Linked DNA regions of Homo sapiens: all the other regions are linked to region 1. Evidence: promoter capture Hi-C in 16 types of primary human blood cells and fetal thymus (Javierre and others, 2016). All regions are on one chromosome and are shown on one strand. The core of a region is centred on a gene start or on the middle of the fragment in contact, and the rest is flanking DNA. Distances in the headings are between cores, read along the strand shown. Region 1 holds the start of TMEM60 (transmembrane protein 60). Region 2 overlaps LOC101927243 (a long non-coding RNA gene). Region 3 overlaps GSAP (gamma-secretase activating protein). Region 4 overlaps GSAP (gamma-secretase activating protein). Region 5 overlaps GSAP (gamma-secretase activating protein). Region 6 overlaps GSAP (gamma-secretase activating protein). Region 7 overlaps GSAP (gamma-secretase activating protein).

Region 1 (2,945 bases), core at 236-2,735:
TTTTCCCTTATACCCATCTAGTGGCACTTAAACTTGTTTACTTAATTGGCAAAGGCTTCATACTGCAGTAATTTTGCTTCTAAGGAGGCATTTTTCTGTGTTGGTTTCCTTTCCCGGCCAGAGGCTGCCATAGAGTGGGATGTGGGACTGAATTTGGAAGCAGGGTTGGAGGGGTGTGTGTTGATTAATAACCATGGATGGATTTCATCCCGTAAATTGCACAATCCCCACCTCCAATCTATCAGGCCGTTTTTGTGAACCTCTGAAAAACGGTTTATGATTATACACTTGCTTAAACCTAACTGTTCCATCTGCTATCGGATAAGACAAGCTTCATTTTTTTCTTACATTTGGCTGTACTTACCACAGGTGCTTTAGGGCTGGAGGTGAAAGGATGCAAGTAACAATCTTATTGTGCCTACAAGATTTATAATGTGGGATGCAACAAAATTCTGTTATGTTCTTGCACGGAAATACCCTCAATGGGGAAGCACTGCTGATACTTAAATGACGATTGAAGGATTGTACGCCTGTATGCTGAGCTACAACGATGACATACGATCCCAGTTTTACATTTACGTCTTCATCAATTTGAGCAGTCGTTATGTTTCCTACTATTCTCTCCACAAGAAAGGGGGAGGTGCGTACTCCAAAAATGTGCTCAACTAAAATGTTTCCCATTTAAGGTGGTTATTTCTGGCACTAGGAAGACAGTTAAATATTTGTTAATGATTCCTTACTCATTTTTAAAACCTTCGGAGTTACCCCTGTATGGACATATATAGAGCCCCACCCACATAGCCCACGGCTGGGTATCAGCCCCCATTTCCCTTCTCTCGCCACTGCCAGTAGTCTACCAAGTGAACCTGCCTCATCCCAAAGATAATTTTGCTTCATGAGCCCACATATTTATTCTTCTTCATAATGAGTCGCTTTTGAAAAGCCCGTGCAGCAACAGCCTTGGCCAAAGGAACAGCGTTCTGCTTACAACTTAGCTCATCTGGGGGCCTATTTGCCCCTGGAACTTCAGGACGCTCCTAAACTATACTTGCCCTTCTGCAAACACCGACAGTCGGCTCGCGGCGCCCCACCGGGACGCTCCCCTTTCATGGGCTGTAAGCCCAGCACATGCTGGAGTTTAACACGGTTCCTGCTGGATGCGCACAGAAGCCCTGGAGCCAAGCAGGCGTGTGCGCGTTTGGGGCTGGCTGTGTGATGGGTTGAGGGTCGGCCGCACAGCCCACGGAAGCATCAGGAGACCAGCGCCGGCGTACGGTGCGGGCTAGGGCAGAGCCCCAGACTCACCTGGCAGCGCTGCCGGCCGGAAAGCGGAGAGGGACGCGAAGATCAGCAAATTCGCCAGTTTGGATCCTTGTCCTTTTCCGCCCTTTTCCCCCCATTAAATCCAGAACCCGTCACATGATAATTAAGAAAAAACTTCAGTTCCGCCTCCTCAAACGACTGCGGTAGAGGATCTCTCAGTTCTACCTCAGTGCCGCGCCCACATCCGGGGCTGGTTCTCACCGCCCCTGAGCCTACCCTATAGGTAGAGAGGACGCCAATCTGGATTCAGAGGTCCCTTTTCCGCGGTAATTGGACCATTTGTCCGCCAGTGCAAACCAACCGACCTTTCCTTACTTTCGGGTTCGACAGAAAGGCGGCAATAAAAAGACCCATTGGTCCCGCCTCTCTACTGTCACGGGTTAGTAGGGAAGTCAGTCCAAGATCAGCCTGGAGTTTCCGTGCTCCCATTGGGCCCACAGATGTTAATCAGAGCAGCCGGCGCTCAGCTCCGCCCTCTCGGGACGCCCCGCCCCTCCTCCCATCCTCCCTGCCCGCGCGCAGTGACTGCAGGCTCCGGCGCAAAATCCTGCGGGAGAGGGGGTGGGGCAACCCTCTGGAGGCAGCGCGCCCGCGGGCAGCCTCGTTGTGGCTCCTTGGGCTCTGTTGGCGGCGGCGCTAGCTTCGGAGTCTCCCGCGCGCACCTCAGCCGCCTCCTAGCGGCGCGGCGCTCGCTCCTACGGTAAGAGCGGCATCACCTCCGCGCTCGGGTGGGCAGTGTGGAGGTCGTCGAGTTCTGACAGAATTTCGAGGATGGATCGGGACGAGGGAGGAGAGCGGTCGTCGGGATGGAGGTGGGGGCTCCGGGGCCAACGCGTCGCCCTCCGTCGCCGGCGACTTTCCCGGCAGTCTCCCGTACCTGAGGGCCGGGGTCAGCCGCGACCCCTTCTCATCAGTCGGCCGGTGGCGGAGGCTCAGCCGCCTTCCTCCCGAGCTCGCGCGGTCCTCAAGTCTTGATGGTGACGGGCCGAAGCCCAGCGCGCCACCCGCCCCTCGGGCCCCGCTTCCAGGCCCCTGTCCTTTGCTTCCTTCCCTTGGCGCTGTGCTGAGGGGTCGTCGGGTCCTGGAAGGGCGTTCAGGGGTCTCGGGTGGCTAGCCCGGCTGGCGGGGAGATGTCAGCTAGCGGCCGGAGGAGCGGGCTCGGGAGGGGGCGGCGGCTCGCGCGCTGGAGGAGGTGGAAGGAGGGTCGCTGCCCTGCCCCCTCTGAGCAGGCGGCAGTCGAGTTTTCTGATCCCAACACGGCGGAGTGGGTGCTTAAGGCATGGGCCTTAAGGGATAGTTCCCGTCTGGAAACAATACCGTGCTCCATCAGCATGCTTCAGCTTTTCTTATTTTTATCTGCCCAGTGTTGACAGCCAGCATTCTGGTATTGTCCTTCGAGTCATGGCTTTCTAACTCAGCACCTCCTTGTGTAACTTCAGGGATCATTCTGTCACTAATCTGTCACCCTTCTTATTTTTAGCGTGGCGAAAACAAGGAACTGCCTTATACTAACCTGGGCAGTGCAGAATCTGGAACAATTTATTAATCTCAGTGTGTACTTTACATGCCAAGTAATTTTGAAATTCATGGTGAATATTAAATATTTTGTAGTTTTCGGTTGC
Region 2 (2,837 bases), core at 309-2,808, 370 kb before region 1:
TTAATGAAAAGTGTTATTTTTACCTTTTAAATGACTGTCCTTTCCTCTATAATAAGAAACTTCCATTAACTGGTCTCAGGAAAAAAATTACTAAAATCAAACTTTTTTTGCAAAATAATCATATGACTTAATTGCACAGGCAAATTCATGACAAGGAATAAATAATATCTATTACAGAAATATTTTCATTAAAATATACACATTGACTTCCTGAAATCCTTTGTGAATTTCATGAGTAGCACTTAGCCATTTTAAAAGAAATGTATGACAGATACTTGTGTGTGTGGCAGATTTTTAATGTCCAACTGCCATGTGTTCTGTACATAGATTTTTTTTCTCAAATTTCTAAACACAGTGGAAGCCACCAGAGAGAATATCTGAAGCAATTCATTAAAATCTTGGCAGCCAGACCCCAGCTCCCACTTTCCCTGAAAGCTCCCTTTAATGAAGCTGAACGCTGTCCCAGCAATTCCCTCCACAGAAGACCTACTGTCACCACCTCTGGAGGGGCAATTCCTGGAGGAACCAAGTCAGCCAATCGAAGGTCCTGAATAAGCAAAAACTAAGTAAATAAATTACCATCTCGAAAGTGATGGGTTAGTGTGCTCTTTTGAATGCCCCGTAGGAAAATAAATTTGATTAAAATTAAATATTTTGTTGTACGATGTAATGCTCAAATTCAGGGGATTCTGGTGTCCCTCTGGACAGTGTCAGTTGTTGGGGGAGGAGGGAAATGCCAGCTGTCCTATGGCTGTTGAATCACAAGAGCTTATTTTCTTTGATAGGATTTTACTTTGAAAATATGTTGTAGGTGATCATAAATGAAGGATGTGCCGCCTTGCTAAGAACATTACATTTTTCTGCATTTTTCACCTGTTTGTGGCTTTGCATGTTGTTTTTTTCACTGCTGTTCCCTCCAGCCGGTTTTGATAATGAGGGCTGGGAAATTTTTCCTGATTCCAGTGCTCCACAGGAGCCTCTTGCCTCCCTCCGGTCTCCTCCCAGTGGCTATCTCTTTGGTGTCTTTGTTCTCAACACAAAATAGTCCCTGCTAGCATTGACCAAACTTCTGTGAATACTCACTGACTCATTAGCTACTTAAAGATCTTCGTTAAGCAGCTTCTTTTTTAAAATTTCAATCGTGGTTTATTTTTTATTTATCTTAGCATGAATCACAATATACAAAAGAAACCTGACTTAACATGGGTTATAAAAGAATTACCATATCATAGAAAATTGTTTTGAAAAAGATTTTATTGTGCAAAAAAAAAAAAAAGCAAACCTCTGAACCTTTCTTTACATGAATGCTAATAATACAGACGACTTTAGAGAAATTGAAACTAGCCCAGCCTGTTCGAAAGGGGATCCAAGCAGTTCATCACCAAAACGGCCACAGCTCAGCTCTCTTAAAACCCGTTATTTTCTGAAAATAATCTGTAGAAGTATTGAGATTCGTAGGCAATATTTTAAACATTTTATGAAGGATTCCATTAGTTTCCCTCTTGTGTTTAATTTTTTGAACTATGTTTAATTTAAACCCTCTTCATTCTCAAAAATCTACATCTTTCCCAGATTTTAAAAGAGGCTACCTCCTCCACCACAGAATTTTTCTTTAAGAAGACAATCAGCACGTCTATCTTTTTAGTCAAGATCCATCTCTGGATCTGCTAGAAGAGAGACTATGGAGACAAATTAGAGTCCATGGGAAAGCGATATCTCTGTCCCCTGCGTGGAAGCAGCATGCCATCAGAATGCTTAGTATTAATCGCAAACTGAACCCTGTAATGTGTCACCTTTCTCTTCAGGGCCTCCAGCTTTCCAAATGTCCATCTAATCTGTGTCCACCCCCGGGAGCAGATAGTAGTTTCCCGTGTTCTTTGATAGTATCAAAACTTTGTCACTTAAGAAAAAGCCTGATATTTACACCAGGTTGGCCAAATGCTCAGCTGAGTCTCAAGAGGGTAAAGAATTTCAGGCATTTAAAAAAAAAGAAAAGAAAAAGGCCAGCAATGGAGTCATGTATTTAGTACTTGACTCAGAGTTAACAGGCCTGGATTCTTGAGGCAGCCCTGGCATGAACAGGCTCTGTGACCTTAGGCAAGTTGCTTAACTTTTCTGAACTTGGTTTTCTCATTTGTAAAATAAAAGAAGTTGAACTATGATCCCCAAGGCCCCATTTGCTTAACAGTGCTGATTCTTAACTACAGTAGCAATAAGATCATCAAAAAAATTCACTTCCCAATCCCTGTCACCAAGTTCATATGCAGAGAGACAGAGGGGCTTAGGAGAAAACTGCAACCTAGTAACCAAGGAAACATGAAAATTTTAACAGTGAAAGACATCCTGTGTAGCAAATTCTACAAAGTGAACCAGGAAAATAGAATTAAGGATGAAGAAATAGGCTGGGCGCGGTGGCTCACGCCTGTAATCCCAGCGCTTTGGGAGGCTGAGACAGGTGGCTCACAAGGTCAAGAGATCGAGACCATCCTGGCCAACATGGTGAAACTCTGTCTCTACTAAAAATACAAAAATTAGCTGGGTGTTTTGGCACGTGCCTGTAGTCCCAGCTACTTGGGAGGCTGGGGCAGGAGAATTGCTTGAACCCGGGAGACGGAGGTTACAGTGAGCCAAGATTGTGCAACTGCACTCCAGCCTGGTGACAGAGCAAGACTCCGTCTCAAAAAATAAAACAGGAAATAGTAGGGAGAGTTTTCAGAAACTCTCCTCTACTCCCCAACTTACCCTCAAAAATCAAATTGTAGGTTTCCCCACAGATCTCTGGAAAAAAATGCTTGATAGTTCTCTGGGGTAAACCCTTCTATTTGATCTAAGATTCA
Region 3 (2,700 bases), core at 120-2,619, 450 kb before region 1:
TTGCCCATTATTGCTCCATATCACCCCCAAAAAATTTTTGCTGCCCCAACACTTCAATGCTATTTTATGTTATTTTTCTTATTAATATAAGAAGACAGGACTATCAGGCCTCTGAGCCCAAGCTAAGCCATCATATCCCCTGTGACCTGCACGTATACATCCAGATGGCCTGAAGGAAGTGAAGAATCACAAAAGAAGTGAAAATGGCCGGTTTCTGCCTTAACTGATGACATTCCACCATTGCGACTTGTTTCTGCCCCATCTTAACTGAGCGATTAACCTTGTGAAATTCCTTCTCCTGGCTCAGAAGCTCCCCCACTGAGCAACTTGTGACACACGCCCCTGCTCATAAGAGAAAACCCCCTTTAACTGTAATTTTTGACTACCCACCCAAATCCTATAAAACGGCCCCACCCCATCTCCCTTCGCTGACTCTTTTCGGACTCAGCCCGCCTGCACCCAGGTGATTAAAAAGCTCTATTGCTCACACAAAGCCTGTTTGGTGGTCTCTTCACCTGGACGCACGTGACATCCCTTTCATTGAATATCAATTTATCACAAAATAAGAATCAAATGCTATAAAAATCGTCATAGCCTTTCACCCAATGTTACCTCTGGGCTCTTAACCTTAGGGGAATAGATCAAAAGAAAAACTGTATGTATAAAAATGTTCACTTTGGGAGGCCGAGGTGGGCAGATCACCTGAGGTCAGGAGTTCGAGACCAGCCTGACCAACATGGTGAAACCCCGCCTCTACTAAAAATACAAAAATTATCCGGGCATAGTGGTGCACACCTGTAATCCCAGCTACTCAGGAGGCTGAGGCAGGAGAATCGCTTGAACCCAGGAGGCAGAGGCTGCAGTGAGCCGAGATCACACCAAAGCACTCCAGCCTGGGCAACGAGAATGAGACTCCATCTCAAAAAAAAAAAAAAAAAAAAGAAAGAAAGAAAAAAAATTCTCTGCAACATTATTTCTAACAGCAAAAAGAAATTTTTTTAATGGGGGCTAGGGACAAACTAAATGTCCAAAAAACAGAAGAACAATTGAGTTAAGGCACTGCAACCCAGCAGGGCATGGTGGCTCATACCTGTAATACCAACACTTTGGGAGGCCGAGTTAGGAGGATGGCTTTAGCTTAGGAGTTTGAAACTAGCTTGGGCAACATAGTAAGACCCTGTCTCTACCAAAAAAAAAAAAAAAAGTTTTAATTAACCAGACATGATGACATGTACGTGTAGTCCTAGCTACTCAGGAGGCTGAAGCAAGAGGACTGCTTGAGCCCAGGAGTTCAAGGTTGCAGTGAGCTGTGACTATGTCATTGCACTCCAGCCTGGGCAACAGAGTGAGACCCTACCTCAAAAAAAGAAAAAAAAAAAAGTATGACATACTTATTGTGGTGTTTTGTATGTATTAATTTTCATCCACCCACTCCTGGTTCACAATGCCCATAGCCTTTGTTACAGCCTGATGTTATAATATCGGGTATTTTAGGCTTCGGGACCAGGACTAGTCTCGGGAAACTCTCTCTCCTGCCTTCCTTTCACCTGCCCTAAGGCATGACTCTCCCCTCCACCACTCCCCACCACCACCCCCCGCCCCACCCCCCTGCCTTTCTGATTGCAGATCTTAAGACCCTCCCCTAAGAGGGTCCTGCCTCATACCCTGGAGGGAAGGAATGCTTCCATAAAAATCCCAGAAGACTGGGTTGGGGAAGTTTCCCCATAGCTGAACAGGTGGAGGTTCCTGGAGGGTGGTGAATCGAAAGAGGGCATGGAAGCTCCACGTCCCTTCCCCCATACCCCACTCTATGCGTCTCTTCATCTGTTTCCTTTGCAATATCCTTTATAATAGGCCAGTAAACATGTTTCCCTGAGTTCTGTGAGCCACCCCAGCAAATTAATCAAACCTAAAGAGGTACCGTGGGAACCCCAACTTAAAGACAGTTGGTCAGAAGTTCCAGAGGTCTGGACTTGCACCTGTTATCTGGGGGTGTGGAGGGTAGTCTTGGGGACTATGTCCCCCAACCTGTGGGATCTGACACTGTCTCTAGGTAGATAGTGTCAGAACTGAATTAAAGGACACCCAGCTGGTGTCTGCTGCTTGGTACATGAAGAATTCCCACACATTTGGTAACAGAAGTGTTTTTCTGTGTTGATGATTATTGTTGCAGTGTGAGAGAGAGGGAAAACACAGTTTGGACAGAGTTTTTCCTCACACACTTACTAATTTAAAATAATAAAAAGAAAAAGACACTGCCATCCAGTGGAATCCTATGGAGTCATTAGAAATTATAAGTTTACATAGCAACATGAAAAAATGTTTACAATAACATAATTTCTAAAATTTATCTAATATCTGTAGATCACAATTACTACTGGGTAAAATATGCATACCTATAACAAAGGCCAAGAGGAAATGGGGGAGAAGAGACAGTTGGTACATTAGGAACTGTAGAATTATGGATGATATTTCTTTCAAAATTTTTCTTCACTGGTTTGTTGTCCATTAAAAAATTATGGTCCATCATGGTGGTTCACACCTATAATCCTAGCACTCTAAGAGGCTAAGGCAGGAGGATGACTTGAGGCCAGTAGATTGAGATCATCCTGGCAACATAGCAAGACCCCATCTCTACAAAAAAAAAAAAAAATAAGAAAAAATAAGAAACTGGATGGGTATGGTGGCTCATGACTGTAG
Region 4 (2,700 bases), core at 184-2,683, 430 kb before region 1:
GTGCAGTGGTGCAAACATGGCTCACTGTAGCCTTAACCTCCCAGGCTCAAACAATCCTCCCACTTCAGCCTTCCAAATAGCTAGGACTACATGTGTGCCTGGCTAATTATTTTATTTTTTTTAAGAGATGGAGTCTATGTTACCCAGGGTGGTCTTGAACTCCCTGGGCTCATGTGATCTTCCTACTTTGGCCTCCCAAAGAGCTGGGACTACAGGAATTTTTTTTAACTTCTATTTTCAGTTCAGGGGTACATGTGAAGGTTTGTTATATAGGTAAACTCATATCACAGGGGTTTATTTTTACAGATAATTTCATCACCCAGCTATTAAGCCTGGTACTCAATAGTTACTTTTTCTGCTCCGCTCCCTCCTCCCACCCTCCACTCTCAAGAAGACCCCAGTGTCTGTTGTTCCCTTGTGTTCAGGAGTTCTCATCATTTAGCTCCTACCTGTAAGTGAGAACACTAGGTATTTCGTTTTACTGTTCCTGCGTTAGTTTGCTAAGGATAATAGCCTCTATCTCCATCCATGTTCCCACAAAAGACATGATCTCATTCTTTTTTATAGCTGCACAGTATTCCACGGTATGTATGTACCACATTTTCTTTATCCAATCTGTCACTGATGGGCATTTAGGTTGATTCCATGTCTTTGCTAACATGAATCACGCTGCAATTGACATTTGCATACGTATATCTTTATGGTAGAATGATTTTTATTCCTCTAAGTATATACCCAGTAATCAGATTGCTGGGTCCAATAGTAGTTCTGCTGTTAGCCTTTGAGTAATCACCATACTGCTTTCCACAATGGTAGAACTAACTTACACTCTCATCAACAGTGTATAAGTCTTCCCTTTTCTCTGCAACCTTGCCAGCAACTGTGGGTTTTTTTTTTTTTTTTTTTTTTTTACTTTTAATAATAGCCATTCTGACTGGTATGAGATGGTATCTCATTGTAACCTCTATCTGCATTTCTCTAATCCTCAGTGATACTGAGTTTTTCACATGCTTGCTGGCCACATGTCTTCTTTTGTAAAGTATCTGTTCATGTCCTTTGCCCACTTTTTAATGGAGTTGTTTTTGTCTTATAAATTTAAGTACCTTGTAGATGCTGGATACTAGGCCTTTGTCAGATGCATAGTTTGCAAATATTTTCTCCCAATTCTGTAGGTCGTTTGGTTTACTCTGTTAGTTTCTTTTGCTGTGCAGAAGCTCTTAAGTTTAATTCGATCCCATTTGTCAATTTTTGCTTCTTTTGTGATTACTTTTGATGTCTTTGTTATGAAATATTTGCCCATTCCTATGACTAGGATGGTATTGCCTACGTTTTCTTTCAGAATTTTTATAAATTTTGGGTTTTACATTTAAGTCTTTAATGCATCTTGAGTTGATTTTTGTCTATGTTGTAAGGAAGGGTTCCAGTTTCAATTTCTATATATGGCTAGCCAGTTATCCCAACACCATTTATTGAGTAGGGAGTCTTTTCCCCATTGCTTTTGTCAGCTTTGCTGAAGATCAGGTAGTCATAGGTGTGCAGCCTTATTTCTGGGTTCGCTATTCCATTCTATTGGTCTATGTGCCTGTTTTGGTAACAGTACCATACTGTTTTGGTTACTGTAGCCCTGTAGTATAGTTTGAAGTTGGGTAACATGATATCTCCAGCTTTGTTCTTTTTGCTTAGGTGTACCTTGGCTACTCAGGCTTTTTTGGTTCCATATGAATTTTAAGACAGTTTTTTCTAGTTCTGTGAAGAATATTGATAGTTTGATAGGAATAGCATTGAATCTGTACACTGCTTTGGGCAGTATGGTCATTTTAATGATATTGATTCTTCCTATCCATGAGCATGTTTTTCCATTTCTTTGTAACTTCTGATTTCTTTGAGCAGTGTTTTGTAATTCTCATTGTAGACATCTTTAACTTCCCCTCCCTGGTTAGCTGTATTCCTAGGTATTTTATTCTTTCTGTGGCAATTGTGAATGGGATTGCCTTTCTGATTTGGCTCTTGACTTTGCTCTTGTTGGTGTAAAGAAATGCTAGAGATTTCTGTACATTGATTTTGTATCCTGAAAGTTTGCTGAAGTTGTTTATCAGTTGAAGGAGCTTTTGGGCTGAGACTATGGGGTTTTCTACAGAATCATGCCGTATGCAAACAGGGATAGCCTGACTTCCTCTCTTCCTATTTGGGATGCTCTCTTGCCTGATTGCTCTAGCTATGACTTCCAATACCATGTTGGATAGGAGTGGTGAGAGAGGACATCCTTGTCCTGTGCCAGTTTTCAAGGGAAATGCTACCAGCTTTTGCCCATTCAGTATGATGTTGGCTATGGGTTTGTCATAGATGGCTATTATTTTGAGGTTTTCCTTCAATACCTAGTTTATTCAGAGTTTTTAACATGAAGGGGTATTGAGTTTTATCGAAAGCCTTTTCTGCATCTATTGAGATAAATGTGGTTTTTGTCTTTAATTCTGTTTATGTGATGAATCACATTTATTGAATTGCATATGTTGAGCCAACCTTGCCTCCCAGGGATGAAACCTACTTGACTGTGGTAGATTAGCTTTTTGACATGTTATTGGATTTGGTTTCCATGTATTTTGATGATTTTTGCATCAGCGTTCATCAAGGATATTGGCCTGAAGTTTTCTTTTGTTCTTATGTCTCTGACAGGTTTTCAGTATCAGGATGATGCTGGCC
Region 5 (2,728 bases), core at 105-2,604, 410 kb before region 1:
GGTGATAGAGCAAGACTCTGTCTAAAAATAAAGTAAAATAAACAGTAAATGTTAAGGTTGAAGCTAATTCTAGGGATGGTACTTCCTATTTGGAATATTTGATTCTGAAACCAATCAGAAACAATGCAAACAACATTTATACAAAATGTTCTATTTCACACACACACACACACACACACACAGAGGTCGATATAGTCGTTGTGCAACTAAACCTAGTATATAATTTGAGAGCCAAGTAAATATATTCCCCACGACAGCTTCCAAAGTTCCACATCCAAGAGACAAAGCACAACATAACCAGAATTTGTCAAGAAAGAACAGTGAGTCATGGTGCCACATGAGTTGAGAATTTACAAGTCTGAAAGCACAGAACGACTGTCACCAGGAAGAAAAGGCTTAAATCCACCCCATTCCTCCTTCTCTGTGCTCTCCCATATAAGCCCACCACTATGTGTCTGTTTGCAGGACAAAGTAGGCTGCCAGCAACACAAGTCCTGACCCCGTCGGCTGTGATAATGAGGAAAAACTGGTCACAGGATGACTCAAAAGGGCAATTGTAAACCAGCCATTTCATTTTGCAGCATGAAAGACCCGTGAATTTTGTTCTTTTCCTCACCCAAAACTTGAAAGTAATATAAAAGGGCACAACTTTTATGTCCCAATCTCCGAGTCATTAGTCTCACTAAACTTAGGACAATTTTTTATTATTTCCTAGTGTCCTACCTTTGCATAATATCAGATTAAAAATAGTACTAGTCAAATTTTGGAACATTTATAGTTGAGTTCCCTTTTAGAAATGAAAAGCAAAACATATGCTTCACAGCAATAAAGTCAAAATTATAAAATAGCAATGCAGAATTCAGCTACAAAAATAATACAGAACTAATTGTCTCATAATTTGTAAAATGTCACACATCAAACAAGATACTTTGTATACCAGAGTTGAGGAAAAGCAGAGATGAATGACACCACATATAGGATGGGAGAACAAATGTTCAGTGCCTCAAAATATGGAGATATCTGCTGCTATGGAAGATGGTATGGCCTCCCGGTCTACAGAGGTGGCCAGGGCATGCCTGCTTAGGAATGTGACATGGACTGAGGTGCTGAAGAGGTGTAACTGCCAACCTCTAAACCTCTGCCTGGTCTTCCTGTGACAATCAGGGAGAATGTTATTTTAAAAGTCCCGTTCAGGTAGGTGTTGTTTTTCTTTCTATTATAAGGTGGTCCTAGAGTAAGGCCTGGAAGCCAAAAGTAGACAGGATTCAGACACAGCTCTGCAAAAGCACTCAAGGTTATTTTTTTTGTATTGTAAGTAGGATTCTATGCAGATTATATTTACTTTGAAAAATTTATCTTCACAAATATGGAGCTAGACTTAGAATGAATATTGGTCTTTGGAGGTCTGTAGTCTCGGTGTGTAGAGGGTGTGTAATTACCCACTGGAACTATCTTGAAGACACACCTTGTGCTGGAAGGAAACACTCAAAGGGTCCCGGATTGGGATCCAAGCCCCACCTGCCACTCCTGCTGAAGCTCCTCTGTGTAGGTTGTCAAGACTACACATGCAGAGTTAGGGAAATGTGCTGCTGGAGATCACCATGGATGTTTTTGTAAGAAAAAGGAAATTGATCCCAGGGCAAGACCAACTCAATGGACAGTAGATGTCATTTCTCTAGAGGCAGGAGGGAGAAGGCGGGGATTTGCCACTGGGGTTTAGAGGAGTTTCTCTCTCCAGAGGCAGAGACATGGGGGCAGAAGGCAGGGCTAGGGACTAAGATGGGTCCACAGAATTAGTACAAGTTTTACTTTATTTGGGTTGGGACTTTTCCTTTGGCCTATAGATGCTGTCCTGTTCCATGTACTTCTAACTTTTTTTTTTTTTTTTTGAGATGGAGTTTCGCTCTGTTGCCCAGGCTGGAGTGCAATGGCACGATCTTGGCTCACTGCAACCTCTGCCTCCCAGGTTCAAGCAATTCTCCCACCTCAGCCACCCGAGTAGATGGGATTACAGTAGCATACCACCACGCCCAGCTAATTTTTATATTTTTAGTAGAGATGGGGTTTTGCCACGTTGGCCAGGCTGGTCTCAAACTCCTGAGCTCAGGCAATCTGCCCTCCTTGGCCTCCTAAAGTGCTAGGATTATAGGCATGAGCCACTGCGCCCAGCCACTTTTAACTTTTTAAAACTGAGTTCACATAACATAAAATTTACCATTTTAACCACTTTAATATATACAATTTTTGGTAGATTTTAATATATTCGCAATGTATACAACCACTTGCTTTTAAAAACTTTTCCCCTTTCTATGCTCCAATTCCCTTTAGTTACCCCAATCCTTCAGTCATGTCTCTACCATCTATATGGCCCTAACAAGATGCTAAGGAAGCCAAAGAACAGACCAGAAAAGAGAAGTGTGCTCTGTCCCCAGCCTCCCCACATTGATGACAGTGTAGACGGAGTAGCTTCCTGAGGGTAGGAGAATGCAGCTTGGGAGCTTCAGGCCAGGCCATATCTGGAATTGAGGAGCGACCACAGTGCTGTCAGGAGTGGCGGGGAAATGCGCAGCTGAAAGGACTGGCTGACAGGGGAGGACCCTGGGAAGAGAGAGACAACCCTCTCCCCTAACCCACTGGAATAGGGAGGCCCATAGGGTGGAGGCTGGTAATAGCTTGGGGGACAAAAAGGCAGATACTTTGAGTGGTGCAAATTGACTCTGGCTAGACC
Region 6 (2,700 bases), core at 52-2,551, 480 kb before region 1:
CTTTAACCAATTCATGTTACAAGTCTCTGACAATCGTAACTCAAACAGTCATCATTAGTCCAATAGGCCTGGAAAGCAAGCACACTTACGCATGTGCATATAGAAACACCCTGAATTCATACAAGCATGCACATGCACACACACACATGATCCAGTGTCACCTCCCCCCTCTATTTCCATGTCACATGATGGAAATAAACATTCAAGAGAAAAGGAGAGAGCATGGAATACTATGCAGCCATAAAAGAGGATGAGTTCATGTCCTTTGCAGGGACATGGATGAAGCTTGAAACCATCATTCTCAGCAAACTATCCCAAGGACAGAAAACCAAACACCACACATTCTCACTCATAGGTGGGAATTGAACAATGAGAACACTTGGACAAGGGTTGGGGGGGAACATCACACACTGGGGCCTGTCGTGGGGTTGGGGGCTGGGGGAGGGATAGCATTAGGAGAAATACCTAATGTAAATGACGAGTTAATAGGTGCAGCAAACCAACATGGCACATGTATACCTATGTTACAAACCTGCACGTTGTGCACATGTACCCTAGAACTTAAAGTATAATTAAAAAAATGAGAAACACCTTTTCCTTACCTGACCCACAGACACAAGCCATAAGTCTACTTATAATAATTCTCGATCACTATGGATAACATCTTTGTTTTCCCTCCTTATCACTGTGAAGGAATGTGAGTTGGGTAGAAAGTGGATTTTTATGATCTCCAGGCGTAACAATGTCCCCAGTAAGTCAGTTTCATTTATTTTCAAAAGAAGCTTGAATATCTGTAATGAACAAATCTAAAACTGTCAATCCATTTCCCTACCAAATTTTTTGTGTTAACAACAAACAATTAAGAATTTAAGCCACAAAGGTAGTTTTCCTGTAATCCTTCAATCTTTCTAGGGTGTACCTCATAACTCATATTCCATTGGGATAATTTTAAACCATCCATTCCCCTCACAAATGGTCCCTTTCAACTCCTTTTGTACTGCCATACAGACAGACATTAAATAAGGTGGATGAAGAATGAAGGATTCCAAACCGTATCAGATGTGTCATAAATGCAGAGCAGCATATGCTGTAGGGATTCTTTAGGCCCATAAATAGCCCATGTTTCAACATCAACTAATTCAACTGGAATATAAAATTCAAGAAGCAGCATGGATTTTGGAGCCAAACTGCCTGGATTTGAATATCAGCTCTGTCACTTAATAGCTATGTGACTTTAGGCAAATTACTCAACCTTTCTGGCCTCAGTTTCACCATCTATAAAATGGGAATAATATTAAGTGGAACCACATGAAAGTGCCATTTTTGTTGGCCAAAAAATGGTTGGGCACTGACAATTTAATGTGGTCCAACTTAAGTTTCTACCAGTTAAAATTTTATGAAAATTAAGTGTACTAATTTGTGTGTACTTTCAACAGTACGTGGCACAAAATGAGTATCATATATATGTTGGCCTAAAATGAAGCAATGAACAAATGATGAATGGATGAATATATATGAATGAAGTAACTAAATATCAGCTGATATGTAGTTACAGCTATCATAAAGTTTAACACTCATTAGAACTTTATATGCAATAATAAATCCATTCATGTTTAGGCAACTAATCTTCAAAAGCACCAAGAACACACAATGGGGAAAGGATCGTGTATCTCTGATAAATGGTGTTGGAAAAACTGTCCATAGGCAAAAGAATGAAATGGGACCCTTATCTTTACCATAAACAAAATTCAACTCAAAATGCATTAGAAAGTTAAACATAAGACCTGAAACTGAAAAACCCCTAAAAGAAACATAGAGGGAAAGCTTCTTGACATTGGTCTTGGCAATGATTCCTTGAATATGACATCCAAAGCACAAACAATGAAAACAAAAATATGTAAGAGGGACTACACCCAACAAAAAAGCTTCTGCACAGCAAAGGAAACGATCCTGGGCCTGTTGTGGGGTGGGGGGAGGGGGAAGGGATAGCATTAGGAGATGTACCTAATGTAAATGATGAGTTAATGGATGCAGCATACCAACATGGCACATGTATACATATGTAACAAACCTGTGTGTTGTGCACATGTACCCTAAAACTTAAAGTATAATAATAAAAATATATATGTATAAAAGGAAACGATCCAAAGAGTAAAGGCAAAACCTACAGGATGACAAAAAGTGTTTGCAAACCATATATCTAACAAAGAGTTAATATCTAAAACATATAAGGAACTCAAACCTCAATAGCAAGAAAACAACCAGATTAAAAAATGGGCAAGGGACTTGAATAGACATTTCTCCAAAGATTGCAGACAAATGGCCAACACTTATGTGAAAATATGCTCGACATCACTAATCATCAGGGAAATGCACATCAAAACCACAATGAGGTATCACCTCACATCTCTCAGGTTGGCTACTATCAAAAAACCACAATTTAAGTGTTATCAAGAATGTGGAGAAATTGGAATCCTTATACACTGTTGGTGGGAATGTAAAGTGGTACAGCCACTGTGGCGAACAGTATGGAGGTTCCTCAAAAAATTTAAAAAAAAGAATCAATATATGATCCAGTAATCTCATTTCTGGATAAATATCTGTAAGAACTGAAATCAGGATCTTGAAGAGATATGTATATACTCCCATGTTTATCACAACATATTCACAATAGCCAAGATAGGGAAACAACCTAAATGT
Region 7 (2,700 bases), core at 163-2,662, 400 kb before region 1:
AGAACCTCAGAGATCCGGGTGACTGTAACAAAAGATCTACCATTCTTGTAATCAGAGTCCATAAAAAGAAAAGAGAAACAGATTGGAACTTTAAGAAAAAATACTTCAAGAAATATTGGCTAATGACTAAAAATGTCCCAAATTTGGCAAGAGACTACAGATTCAATAAGCGGAGTAAACCCCAAACAGGCAAAATCCAAACAAATCCACACCAAGACACAGCACAATCAAACTTCAGAAAACTAAGGAGAAAGAAAAAAATTTTTTCAAAAACAGCAAAGAAAAAAGTGACATCTATATGGGGGGGAGAAAAATTCAAAAGACAGCAGATTTCTCATGAGAAACCAGAGAACCCAGAAGGAAGTGGCATGTTTTTCAAGAGAGGAACAAAAAGAACTATGAATCCTGAATTCTACACTTGGCAAAATTATCCTTCAGGAATGAAAGGAAAAAAACACATTCTCAGATGAAGAAAACTATGAAAATTTGTCATCGGCATAGCTACCCTAAAAAAAATGGTTAAAAAAAGTTCTTGAAAGAGAAAGGACATGATAAAAGAGGAACCTTAGAACATCAGAAAGAACCATGGAAAGAGCAAATATATAGGTAAACACAATAGACTTTCCTTCTCCTGTGTTTTCTAAATTATGTTTGACAATCAGGGCGAAAAGTATAACATTGCCTGATGAGGATCCTAAAGAATGTATAGGAAATATCGAAGACAATCAAAAACACAGAAAGGTAAAGAGACTCAAAAGGAGATAATAGTTCCACACTTCATTCGAACTGGTAAAATTTCAACACCAATAGATCTTGTAGAAATGGAATAACTCTTTCTCGATTGCAGTGGTAATTACAAGAATCTACACAAGTAATGAAATGGCATAGAACCATATGCACACATTCTACCGACATTAATTTATTGGTTTTAATATATTATCCTATAGTTACACAAGATTTAACAATTGAGAGAAACTGAGTGAAGAGTACACAGGACATTACTCTACTAGTTTTATCAAATTTAAAAAATAAAAACTTTTAGAGAAGGATGGGTAAGCATTAAGACTCAGACACTGTTATCCCATCCTGAAGCTCAATTACCAAGAGAAAGATTTTTTTTTTCTCTTGATGGCACCATCTTTCCTCATGGTGGCACCTTTCCAAGGAAAAATACAGTACTTGAAAAGAATCTTAGGCCGGGCACGGTGGCTCACACCTGTAATCTCAGCACTTTGGGGCTGAGGCAGGCAGATCACGAGGTCAAGAGATTGAGACCATCCTGGCCAACATGGGAAACCCCATCTCTACTAAAAAAAAAAAAAGAAAAAAGAAAAAAAAAATATATATATATACACACACACAGAAAAAAAAGATTAGCTGGGCGTGGTGGCACACACCTGTAGTTCCAGCTACTTGGGACGCTGAGGCAGGAGATTTGCTTGAACCCAGGAGGCGGAGGTTGCAGTGAGCTGAGATGGCGCCACTGCACTCCAGCCTGGCAATAGAGTGAGACTCTGTCTCAAAAAAAAAAAAAAAAAAAAAAAGAATTTTAAAGCCCATCTAGATTTGGTATACAAATCCATTCCTTCAATAAAACCATCAAAAGGTCCGTAAAAAAAAAAAAAAACATATGGGCTGTAAGGGTTGTGCCTACGTGGAGAAGAGATGGGAGAAGGGGAGGGTTTGTTTAGCGACTACGGTTCAGAAGAAAAATTTGCCTGTTTACAAAGCTAGTTTAAATTTCCTATTAATTTATCCTTTGGCCAATTTATTTTCTGGACTAACTTTCACATTTTGGAATTCAAAGCACCTTTGTCACTGGAAAATTTTTGAAAAACAGCCACTCTGGAGGGAACCTATCACTATCAATCCAGTGAAAAACATTCACTGTACTCCTACCACTCACAGGCAGTAAGCTAAAGGTAACGGGGATAAAACACATTGGTATGCAAAGTGCTCCTACTGTCAAGTGCTCACAGTCTTGGGAGAGAGGAATATGACCACAAAAGATAGCAGCAGTCACCACAACTGGATTGACAGAAGACAGACTATGATGTCTCCTCTCAATCCACCTTTTTAGAATACATGCCACACAGAAATTAAGCTAACAATTGCACTGAAAACTTGAGATTTTATTCTCTTTCCCTAGACTGTGTATTGTGAGTTTATGTTGATCATCACTGTGTCTCCAGCACCTGACAGGGAAAACACTCAATGCTTATTTGTTGGATCAGTGAATGGGTGAATGAATTAATGAATAAAGGTGAAAGGGGTGGAAGAAGGGAAGAGAGAATTAACCAAGCAGCGTATTGGAACCCTGAAGAGTAAGGTGACCTGTAAAAAATTTGTAATGGATAAAGGACATTTAAGTTCAAAGATGTCTAATATTCAATTCTAAATTGTTTTTACATAGGTACAAAATTACTCCCTCCCATTTGCTCCCAGAATTAGACAAAGCCTGTCACATCAACCAACGCCTTATGTGAGTAATTTGGGGAAAAAAATAAGGAAAGGGGTTCCTTGTCTGGATCACTAAGAAATAATGAGAAACAAGACATGTGAAGGTTAAGCAGAAGCAGAAAGAGTCAGAGGTCATTATAGGATGACCTGGGAGTACACAAATCTCAAGAAGGACATTGGACCTCCTACTTTCTTAGAGGATATTGAATAATTTGTTTGAGCCAATTTTACTTAAATCTC

The links. Contacts are between HindIII fragments. The CHiCAGO score rates a contact against its expected background, and 5 or more counts as called.
Region 2: a fragment that was not itself captured here is called in contact with the fragment with the promoter of TMEM60 in region 1 in 5 of 17 cell types (activated CD4 T cells, neutrophils, monocytes and 2 more); the score reaches 10.0 in activated CD4 T cells.
Region 3: a fragment that was not itself captured here is called in contact with the fragment with the promoter of TMEM60 in region 1 in 3 of 17 cell types (non-activated CD4 T cells, neutrophils and activated CD4 T cells); the score reaches 7.4 in non-activated CD4 T cells.
Region 4: a contact is called between a fragment that was not itself captured here and the fragment with the promoter of TMEM60 in region 1, in 6 of 17 cell types (total B cells, neutrophils, total CD4 T cells and 3 more). The highest score is 10.4, in total B cells.
Region 5: a fragment that was not itself captured here is called in contact with the fragment with the promoter of TMEM60 in region 1 in 6 of 17 cell types (naive B cells, total B cells, non-activated CD4 T cells and 3 more); the score reaches 9.3 in naive B cells.
Region 6: a fragment that was not itself captured here is called in contact with the fragment with the promoter of TMEM60 in region 1 in 3 of 17 cell types (total B cells, monocytes and naive B cells); the score reaches 6.7 in total B cells.
Region 7: a fragment that was not itself captured here is called in contact with the fragment with the promoter of TMEM60 in region 1 in 6 of 17 cell types (neutrophils, monocytes, naive B cells and 3 more); the score reaches 17.0 in neutrophils.

The regions. Positions count from the first base shown.
Region 1 is chr7:77,796,949-77,799,893 of GRCh38, forward strand. TMEM60 (transmembrane protein 60) reads right to left here and starts at 1,486. Exons shown (of 2, transcript NM_032936.4): 1 at 1,306-1,486. PHTF2 (putative homeodomain transcription factor 2) reads left to right here and starts at 1,825. Exons shown (of 19, transcript NM_001395272.1): 1 at 1,825-2,023. RefSeq lists an enhancer at 1,246-1,355 and a silencer at 1,766-1,905. The HindIII fragment of the contact is 8,213 bases long and covers 330-2,945 here.
Region 2 is chr7:77,424,856-77,427,692 of GRCh38, forward strand. It overlaps LOC101927243 (a long non-coding RNA gene), which reads left to right. Exons shown (of 5, transcript NR_110073.1): 5 at 356-589. Among named protein-coding and RNA genes, the nearest start is that of GSAP, 9.9 kb to the left of the region's middle. RefSeq lists enhancers at 221-919, 920-1,617, 2,317-2,837. The HindIII fragment of the contact is 3,122 bases long and covers 1-2,837 here.
Region 3 is chr7:77,345,350-77,348,049 of GRCh38, forward strand. The region is part of intron 19 of GSAP (gamma-secretase activating protein); the gene reads right to left. Among named protein-coding and RNA genes, the nearest start is that of GSAP, 70 kb to the right of the region's middle. RefSeq lists an enhancer at 2,684-2,700. The HindIII fragment of the contact is 5,489 bases long and covers 1-2,700 here.
Region 4 is chr7:77,365,012-77,367,711 of GRCh38, forward strand. All of the region lies in intron 12 of GSAP (gamma-secretase activating protein), which reads right to left. Among named protein-coding and RNA genes, the nearest start is that of GSAP, 50 kb to the right of the region's middle. The HindIII fragment of the contact is 6,987 bases long and covers 1-2,700 here.
Region 5 is chr7:77,383,163-77,385,890 of GRCh38, forward strand. All of the region lies in intron 6 of GSAP (gamma-secretase activating protein), which reads right to left. Among named protein-coding and RNA genes, the nearest start is that of GSAP, 32 kb to the right of the region's middle. The HindIII fragment of the contact is 4,120 bases long and covers 1-2,728 here.
Region 6 is chr7:77,316,954-77,319,653 of GRCh38, forward strand. All of the region lies in intron 26 of GSAP (gamma-secretase activating protein), which reads right to left. Among named protein-coding and RNA genes, the nearest start is that of CCDC146-AS1, 70 kb to the left of the region's middle. The HindIII fragment of the contact is 1,042 bases long and covers 781-1,822 here.
Region 7 is chr7:77,401,073-77,403,772 of GRCh38, forward strand. All of the region lies in intron 3 of GSAP (gamma-secretase activating protein), which reads right to left. Among named protein-coding and RNA genes, the nearest start is that of GSAP, 14 kb to the right of the region's middle. The HindIII fragment of the contact is 4,490 bases long and covers 1-2,700 here.